Linked DNA regions of Homo sapiens: region 2 is linked to region 1. The links are contacts of gene promoters, found by promoter capture Hi-C in human tissues and cell types (Jung and others, 2019). All regions are on one chromosome and are shown on one strand. The core of a region is centred on a gene start or on the middle of the fragment in contact, and the rest is flanking DNA. Distances in the headings are between cores, read along the strand shown.

What was found. The method cuts DNA at HindIII sites, captures the fragments that hold promoters and counts their contacts. A contact is called where the count stands out against the background at its distance.
Region 2: a contact is called between a fragment that was not itself captured here and the fragment with the promoter of ROCK1 in region 1, in 1 of the 25 tissues and cell types used here (dorsolateral prefrontal cortex).

What each region holds. Positions count from the first base shown.
Region 1 is chr18:21,109,362-21,113,619 of GRCh38, forward strand. It overlaps ROCK1 (Rho associated coiled-coil containing protein kinase 1), which reads right to left and starts at 2,452. Exons shown (of 33, transcript NM_005406.3): 1 at 1,457-2,452. The coding sequence starts at 1,549. RefSeq lists enhancers at 2,105-2,693, 2,347-2,641, 2,741-2,960, 2,991-3,050 and a silencer at 2,311-2,700. The HindIII fragment of the contact is 9,004 bases long and covers 1-4,258 here.
Region 2 is chr18:21,679,763-21,684,192 of GRCh38, forward strand. ABHD3 (abhydrolase domain containing 3, phospholipase) reads right to left here. Exons shown (of 9, transcript NM_138340.5): 4 at 4,158-4,203. It overlaps MIR320C1 (microRNA 320c-1), which reads left to right and starts at 3,756; the gene lies at 3,756-3,827. The HindIII fragment of the contact is 7,816 bases long and covers 1-4,430 here.

The DNA of each region.
Region 1 (4,258 bases), core at 1,202-3,701:
ACCCTCCCTATAACACCACTCATGTAATAAGGAGATCGAAAAGCAAAATAAAATCAAAAATATATGAAAACTGGATAAATATTAAAAGATAAATCAGACTTCTTAGAAGTTATAGAAATCCTTACTACAAGATATATTCTAATTCCTTCCACTTATCTCGTTTAATAAAATGTTTTAAAATCTATTACGCATCAACCTTCTTTACTATCTCTCAATATAAAGAGCATCCATAATGTGGTGAGACATTTCAAACAACCCACAATAGTCTTATTTCCTGGTCAGGGATGCTTACAACAATTCTGAAAGCTTTGGGAAGCTTGTTGTAAAACCCATACACGTGGAAAAATACAAATAAACAGAAATTTAGAGTAACTGAAATGCACGTTAATTTTAAACAATCTACATTAATTTTCCTTTGATTCAAGATGCGATTTTTGAATTGTATTATTTCTTTGAATGGTATTATTTTGTTTCCTTAATCTTAATCCCCAAAATTGAGCATATCTAACATTATTTCACCGAAGACATTGTGAAATCCTGTCCATATACATGCTCCCTGAAACCTTATTTTAGAGATTATGTGGTTTTGTTTGGACCAAGAAATATTATATAACCCTTAGTTGTTCAGAAACTCTGAACAACTTTGATACATTTACAGAGGAAATGTATCAAACCTAAGAATTCCAATTATTTACAGATAACTGTATTATCAACCACTTAACTATTTTTAAAATGGGATTGTGGTTTTTCATGTCATAAAACCCTCTTTAGAATGTTTTACAAGTGACAATGTTAAGTGCCACACCACCAAAAAGACAGTTACAATAACTGTATGGTACGTACTTTTGTAACCAATAATACAATAAAATAAGTTAACACTGTAATTACCTATGACCAATTATCTTGGTTTTTTACAATAGTTTAGCAAAAAGTTCCTTCAAACTCAAATCACCTATGAAATTTTGGCTCAAAAATCACTTCCTCAATAGCAATTCTCCGTTATCATTTTCAAGGCTAAAAACTAAACCCCTAGGAGCTAAATCGCAAAAAGGAAAAAAAATGCAAAGTAGTCTTTCCAATTTAACTGTCAAACGGATCAGAAAGATTAACATTAATTACTACGATCGCCATTCAACAAACTGTATACATTGCAGTAACTCTGACGTGATAACTTTTTATAGGATGCCTGCAATAGCAGTTTGTAAGTATCTTTCGGGTACTCATGAACTGAGTCAGAATTAAAAGTTCAGAGTAGTTAGTACAGAGCCAGTCAAATGGCAAATAGGACCACACCATGAGATGTTAATGGTACTCCAAGATTCTTCAGGAAACAGAAATCTAGCATTTTCCAAGACGATTATGCACACCTGAGACTTTTGCAGCGAACCAGACTAATGCAAGAGGAAGGAAAGACATGCAAAACCCCAGACAAGCAAAAGAGAACAGCGCTACTCACCAGCAAACAATCCGAATTCACTTCCGATTTGGGATCCCGCAGCAGGTTGTCCATTTTTTCAAATCGAGTCTCAAAACTGTCCCCAGTCGACATGTTGCTGCTGCTGTGACAATGCCCTCTTACCAGCACCAGCAGCGGAAAGCAATTTCAACCAACTTCCTCCGCGGTGGGTTCGCAGCCGCGGGGCGGAGGAGCCGGAACCTCAGGGTCACCAGGTGCGCCCGGTTCCCCCGTCTTCCCCTCACTGAGGGGACCTCCGCTCTCCAGACCCCGGGCCGGGGGCAACAGCGACCCACAGCCGCTCGGACGCCCAAAGTCGCATCCCACCCGGCAGCCCCTCACGACAGCCGACAGCGCCGTCGCCACCAGCCTCGTCGCTCCGGCGAGGTGCTTCAGTCTAGCGGGCCCCGGCCGCCGTCGCCATGGAGGGGTCCCCGTCCCGAGATGGGCAGGAGCGGGTAGAGAAAGAGAAGCAGGGTGGAGACTCCCTCCGGGCAACAAGGGAGGGAGAAGAGGAAAGGCGAAAGCAAAGGGCGGGTGAGGAGCTGTGCCAGCTGCGGCCGCCGCTCGGGCCACGGGCCGGGCCCGCTCCGCTCAGAGGCGCTGTAGACGGTCTAGCCCCGCGTCCCCGGCTCTACTCGGCCCGGCCCGACGCACCGATCAGTCTCGGCCACGAGCTGGTCCACGCAGGACAGCCTCACTCTCCCATTTTGTCCCGTCGCTGCTGGGGCTGCTGCTACGGTGTCCGGTGGGGCAGGGCGAGGTCGATGCCCGATGGAGACTTAGCAGAGGAAAGGCTGGAGAGCGGGCGAAGAGGAAGACGATAGTTGGGTCCCGGCGGCTGCTGATGGGGGAGCTTCTGGGAGGGGCTGCGGTCCCAGCCGGGGAAAGGGCGAGTCGCGGCGGCGAATGCCTGGGGGGTGGGGCGAGGGGGGCTGAGAGGGACTAATATGTCCGCCTTCCTGTTCAAACAAACGGAGACCGCCGGGGCAGACTGCGCATGCGGGGCGCGGACGCTCGGAAGGGGAACCAGCCGGGACCCCGCGCGCGCGCGCGCACTCTGTCGCCTCCGCAGGGTGGGGTGGGGCGGGGCGGTGAGGTGGGCGGGGCCTTGCGGGCAGGCGGTGGAGAAGGCGGACCGCTGGGAGGAGCCGAGTGCGGGTAAGCAGCTGCCGGCAAGGTTCTCGCCTTGGCCGGCTCTGAGGAGCCATGCAGGGCTCTGGAGCGGCCTTGGAGGTCCGGACGGAGGCGGAGCTCTGGCTGCTTCTGATCGCTGTCCCGGCAGATGCCCCAGCTCTGTTTCCTCTGGGTTGCAGCCAGTCCAGAGACTTCTGACGAGGAGAGAGTGCTTGTTCTCCTTGTTGCTGTTAGGGTGGGGCAATAGGTTCTTTTTTAGGCAAGAAGCCTTTTCGTCGGCAGGTACCAGCATTGAGCACCAGTGGCGTTTGGTTTTCAGTGGTACTCCATGGACAGCCCTCCGCGAGCCCCGGCGTTGAACCCATTTACGATTCACTGGGAAAGTTCCGAAGCGCTGCAGCGCTCAGCCCTCCCACGCCAGGCGTGTGTGTCAGGGGAGCCATAAAATACTGACTCCGGAAGATACAGTCAATAGAAGTCAAGCTCAATTTAATTTTTTTAAAGGAAAATAATCTCGTAGAAAAAAATCAATATTTTTAAGTCGTTCGTGTTAGTTCTCATAACACCCCTACTGTAGTTCTCTCCTGGACGTGTAATGCTGCCGTTTCAATGTCAAAACATTCAGTGAAACTTAATTGTGATTTTTATCAGAACTAATGTAGGACATGAGAATAATGGGCATTTCTCCTAGTTCCGTTACTTCGTTGACTGTGGTGTGAGGAAAGGTGAAAGACTTGTCACTCACCCCCGCTGATAAAGTTATGTTCTTCACTGGTTTCAGCAGGAAATCTACCTTAATTTATTCCTCATCAAACTTTATTTTTGCTCAGAAGCCAAATTAAGGATCACTAGAAATAGAAAATGTGGATCTTTTACCCCATGATGGAAAATGCTACAGATGAACCAAAAAGCATCGGAGTAAAAAGCATCGTACAGCATCTGAACAGTCCACCAGCCTTACGATGTGAGTCAGAGGTTAGGAAAATCTTACACTGTTTGAAAAAATGTCTATTTCTATTTTCAATTTATTAAATACAAGAAATATTTAGATATAAAATCCACTATATATATCAAGATAGGACGTTCTTGGTTTATACAAAAATCATAACAAAGACAACTAGACAAACCAGGTATTTCATTAAATGCCTTTGCAGCGACTTTTCTTGGCTCCAGCATTTTAAGTCATGTGAATTAGACTTATTTTTAAGCATAGGGCTTAAAATAAATCAGGCAGTTGCCCTAAAATAAATTTCCTAAACCCTGCTTGTCTTTTTTTTATTATTATTACCATTTTTAGGTATTAGGAATTTTGTTGTTTCTCAGAGAACCGTGAACATTATGTTGCTTTCCATTTAGACACATACGAAAAAATACAAGTAGTTAAGACAATACATGAGTGACACTGATAAATATAAGTGGAAGTGATAACCAACCTGGCAGAACTACTAGAAATATATGTGGGGTCCATATATTTCTAGAAATATCTACTAGAAATATAGGTGGGGTCCATATATAGCTTACTTACCTACAAGGCTCTTCTGATTATTGTGACACATCACTAGTTATCTTCTGCCATAAGATAGATGGACTCTAAATCTAGTTATCTTCTGCCATAAGATAGATGGACTCTAAATTAACTTTTTTTTTTTTCTCCGAGGCGGAGTT
Region 2 (4,430 bases), core at 1,339-3,838, 570 kb after region 1:
GATCCACGCACCTCAGCCTCCCAAAGTGCTGGAATTACAGGCTTGAGCCACCGCGCCTGGCCTATTTTTATTTTTTATTATTTTTTAATTTAATAGAGATGGGGTTTCGCCATGTTGGCCAGGCTGGTCTTGAACTCCTGGGCTCAAGTTATGTGCCTGCCTCAGCCTCCCAAAGTGCTGGGATTACAGGCATGAGCCACTGTGCCTGGCCCTAAAAAGCTTTATCTTACAAGATATTTCAAGTTTATTATTTCTTTTTGTTTGTTTTTGAGATGGAGTCTTGCTCTGTCGTCCAGGCTGGAGTGCAGTGATGCCATCTTGGCTCACTGCAACCTCCACCTCCTGGGTTCAAATGATTCTCCTGCCTCAGCCTCCTAAGTAGCTGGGACTAAAGGTATGTGTCACTACACCTGGCTAATTTTTTTGTATTTTTAGTAGAGACAGGGTTTCACCATATTGGCCACGTTGATCTCGAACTCCTGGCCTCAAGTGATGCACCCGCCTCAGCCTCCCAAAGTGTTGGGATTACAGGTGTGAGTCACCGTGCCCAGTCTCATGTTTATTATTTCATGTGAACTTGAAACATCCTTGTGAGGTGGCAAGTACACATTATCATATTCAGTTAAGAAAAAGAGAAACAGAAAGGTTATTTGACTTGTACTTTATCACTTATAGCTGGTTAGTGGTGACAACCGAACTTGAACTTGGGACTTCTGAGTCCGAGGTACTTTCTGCTACATAAACCCAAGCTGCCTGCCAGACTGTAACTCTAACAGCTTAGTGTGTTATTAGCTATTTTGAGACACATATTTGCTGGGGGGTACTAGTTAATCAAAATTTAACTGACACACTGTGTAAGACTCCAGAGACCCAGCTACTCTTACGTTACTTAGAACTCAGTGAATTCTTCCTGGAGGTTTTTCAAAAATACAATTAAAGCTTATGGGCTGAAAATTACTGGGTTGCTGTACTATTTCAAAGCAAATTTCTAATTTAACTTTAAATACTAAGGAGAGTATGTTTTTAAAGTATCCTTCTCCTCTTTTTCTCTCCTCCTTCCTATTTGTTGTTTCTTTTTTTCTTTTTCAAATGTGTGTGTGTGTGTGTGTGTGTGTGTGTATATATATATACACACACACATATATATTTGAGACAGGGTTTCCATATGTTGCCCAGGCTGGTCTTCAACTTCTGGGCTCAAGTGATCCTCCCACCTGGGCCTCCCAAAGTGTTGGGATTGCAGGTGTGAACCACCACTCCCAGCCTGTTGTTTCTTAAGCTTCTAACCACCAATCTCCCCTTTCACTCTACACGTGCCCTAACTAATCTCAGCTACTCCTGAGCTTCAACTTCTACCTGCACACTGATAATCTCAGTCTGTCTCTCTCTTGCTTGCCTATTTCTCCTGAAGGCCAGTCCAGTACATCCAAAAACTTACTGAAAATTTCCACCGGGATTATCTAAAAGCACCCTAAACATCTAAAATGGAATCTGTTATCTTTGTTACATCATAATCTCACAAATTCTTCTAAATTTCCTATTTCAGCAAATAGCAGCATCTTCCATCAGCCAGCCAAGCTAGAAACATTACCCTAGACTCCCTTGTCTTTACTTCCCACAATACGACTAATACTATTTTCTTCCCCTTGAATACTACTCATTTTTGTTCTCTCGTCTTTATTCCCCCTCCGTCTGCTTTCAAACTCCAAACTCCATGTAGGTCTGTAGTAACTGCTTTCTAACTGGCCTCCCAGCCTCCAGCCTCCAGCCTCCTTCCCCTCCATCTCTTTCTTTCCTACACACCACTGCCATGGTTCTCTTTCTAAAACATGACCATGATCAAATTATGCCCTTGCTTCAAAATATCAATGATTCAATACCAGGTTCTTAGGAGTCTACATGTGATTCTGGCCCTACCCTTCTAGCAAATTCCTGTCACTTCCAGAAAAGTAAGAAAGCATAAAACATAATGGTCAAAAACATAAGCACATAGATCACCTGGGTCTGAATCCTGGCTCTGTCATTTGTTGGGAGGGGTAAGTTCCTAACCTACCAGTGTCTTGTTTTCTTCATCTGTAAAATGCAGGACAGGGGCCAGGTGCAGTGGCTCACACCTGGAATCTCAGCACTTTGGGAGCATCGCTTGAGCCCAGGAGTTTAAGAGCAGCCTGGGCAACAGAGTGAGACCCCATCTCTACAAAACAAACAAATAAATAAATAAAAAATCAGCCAGGCATGGTGGCACACACCTCTGGTTCCACCTACTTGGGAAGCTGAGGTGGAAGGATCACTTGAGCCCAGGCGGTCGAGGCTACAGTGAGCCATGATTGTGCCACTGCACTCCAGCCTGGGCAACAGGGCAAGACCCTGTCTCCAAAAGGAAATGAGGGATAATGGGGGCTATACTTACCTAAATTGTTGGGCTGTTTCTATTTCTGAAGATTAAATAGGAAAAGACATAACTGATACATTCTACGGATTACATAAATATTAGATAAAATTATCATCATCATCCAGCCATAGTAAGTAGCTGCTACTGTACGCACTTTATAATACCTTGGTCTTTGCGCTGAGAGAGCCTCTCTCCCCGCTTTGGAGGTTCAATACCACAGCCTTCAAGATCCAACTCAGAACGCTACCTCCTCTCTAAGCTCTCCCACCTCCCCCAGGCGCTTTGTTACTCTTTCCCTTTGTGCTCTGTAGCCTTAACAAAGGCTACTGTTAAACACTTAGCACTGTGTATATTTTAATGGACTTGACTGTCTCTCCCACAACTAAAGTTTGAGCTCCTAAAGATTAGGGCTGTGTCTCATTAATATGTATATCTTCACCCTATTGGCTTGCACAGTGCCCGATTTAACAGGCACATACCACGGCTCTGCTGAATGAACAGATCTTTGTCCCTCACTTCATAAAGAACTAACGAGCTTGGCTTTGCAGCACATTATTTCCTTGAGAGCCTCAGACCATGTCTTCCCCCCCGGCTTTGTGTCCTGGAAGAATGCACAGCAGACAGGAGCTGCTCAAAATGATTTGCCTGGGCCAGGGCCACAGTGACACATTCAAATCTTTCCCTTTAGAGTACTATCTGTCTACGAGATTCCTAAAGGGCTGGATTGAATGAGAAAACGTGAACCTTCACGTCAAGCTATTTATTACAAGGCACTTGAGTAAGACCATAACACTCTGCAACTTTTGCTTTCGAAATCGTGTTGATCTTCATTTCCTCCAGTGCCTAAGTCACTGTAAAGCCAAGTACAAGAGGTTTTTACTTCCCAAGTTCTTATAAAGTGTTGACATTTGTGACCTGATTGTAAATTTTTATTTCCAGCATGACTTATTTATAGTCTTAATGTCATTCTCTATCAATGACCCAAAAAAAGTTTCTTTCAATTCTAGTAGAATTGCCTTTGACCTGTTGAGATTGTAAAAAGTTAAAAAGCTGAAGAAAATTTTAGCAAGTGGAATATTTCTCATTCCAACTCACGGATTTAAAGATCAGATAGAGTGATTTTCTAAGAGGTGAAAGATCTATCCTAGCAAAAACTCAGAATTAGAGGGGGAAAAAAAGACCTGATATAAATTTTAAAAGGTTTCAATAACATTCCCACCATGTAAACTTCAGCTGGCAAACAGGCATGTGACATACAAAATTGTTTCATGACAAATGTAAATTTCATAAGTGGAAAAAAAATCACTGTATTAGTTAATTTGTTTTGCACTGGTTAATTTTTAAGGAAAATGTGTTTTGCATTAAAAATGAGGCCTTCTCTTCCCAGTTCTTCCCAGAGTCAGGAAAAGCTGGGTTGAGAGGGTAGAAAAAAAATGATGTAGGTGAATAACTATCGATGTTAAAATGTAGTAAGTACAAAAGTTTAGTTACAAAATAGAATCTTAATTTTTATAAAAATAGAAATATATTATATATATTTTATTTATATATGAAATCTGAATGAACACAGACTAAGGGAATTTCCTTGGTTATACAATTATCGGTCTTGTAAATTTCCTTTTTTTCCATATCTGTATTTTTGTATAATAAATTTGTATTGCTTACATAAACAGAGTTATTTTAAATAAAAAGAATATGCTTTTTGTTATAAAACTAGAAATGATTCTTTAAAAAGTTAAGACTGTTGTCATTTAAATTTACTTACCAAGAGATTCTCCCCCGCCACTCCTCTGTTGTTAAAAACCACACATCTAAAAACCAGGAAAGCAATTTTTGTTATTTTTACACATGATTCTTGCTCATGATATAATATTAAAGTCATCTTACTGACACTGATTTAGAGCACTAAAAGATTTTAAAAATCTGTCTTGTAGTTGTAATGTTTGGCAATTTCATCTAAATGCAATGCACTAAAATAAAATTCCAGTTCTCTAAATTCCACATGTGGGTTCAAATTAGAAAACTGTATACTGAAGTG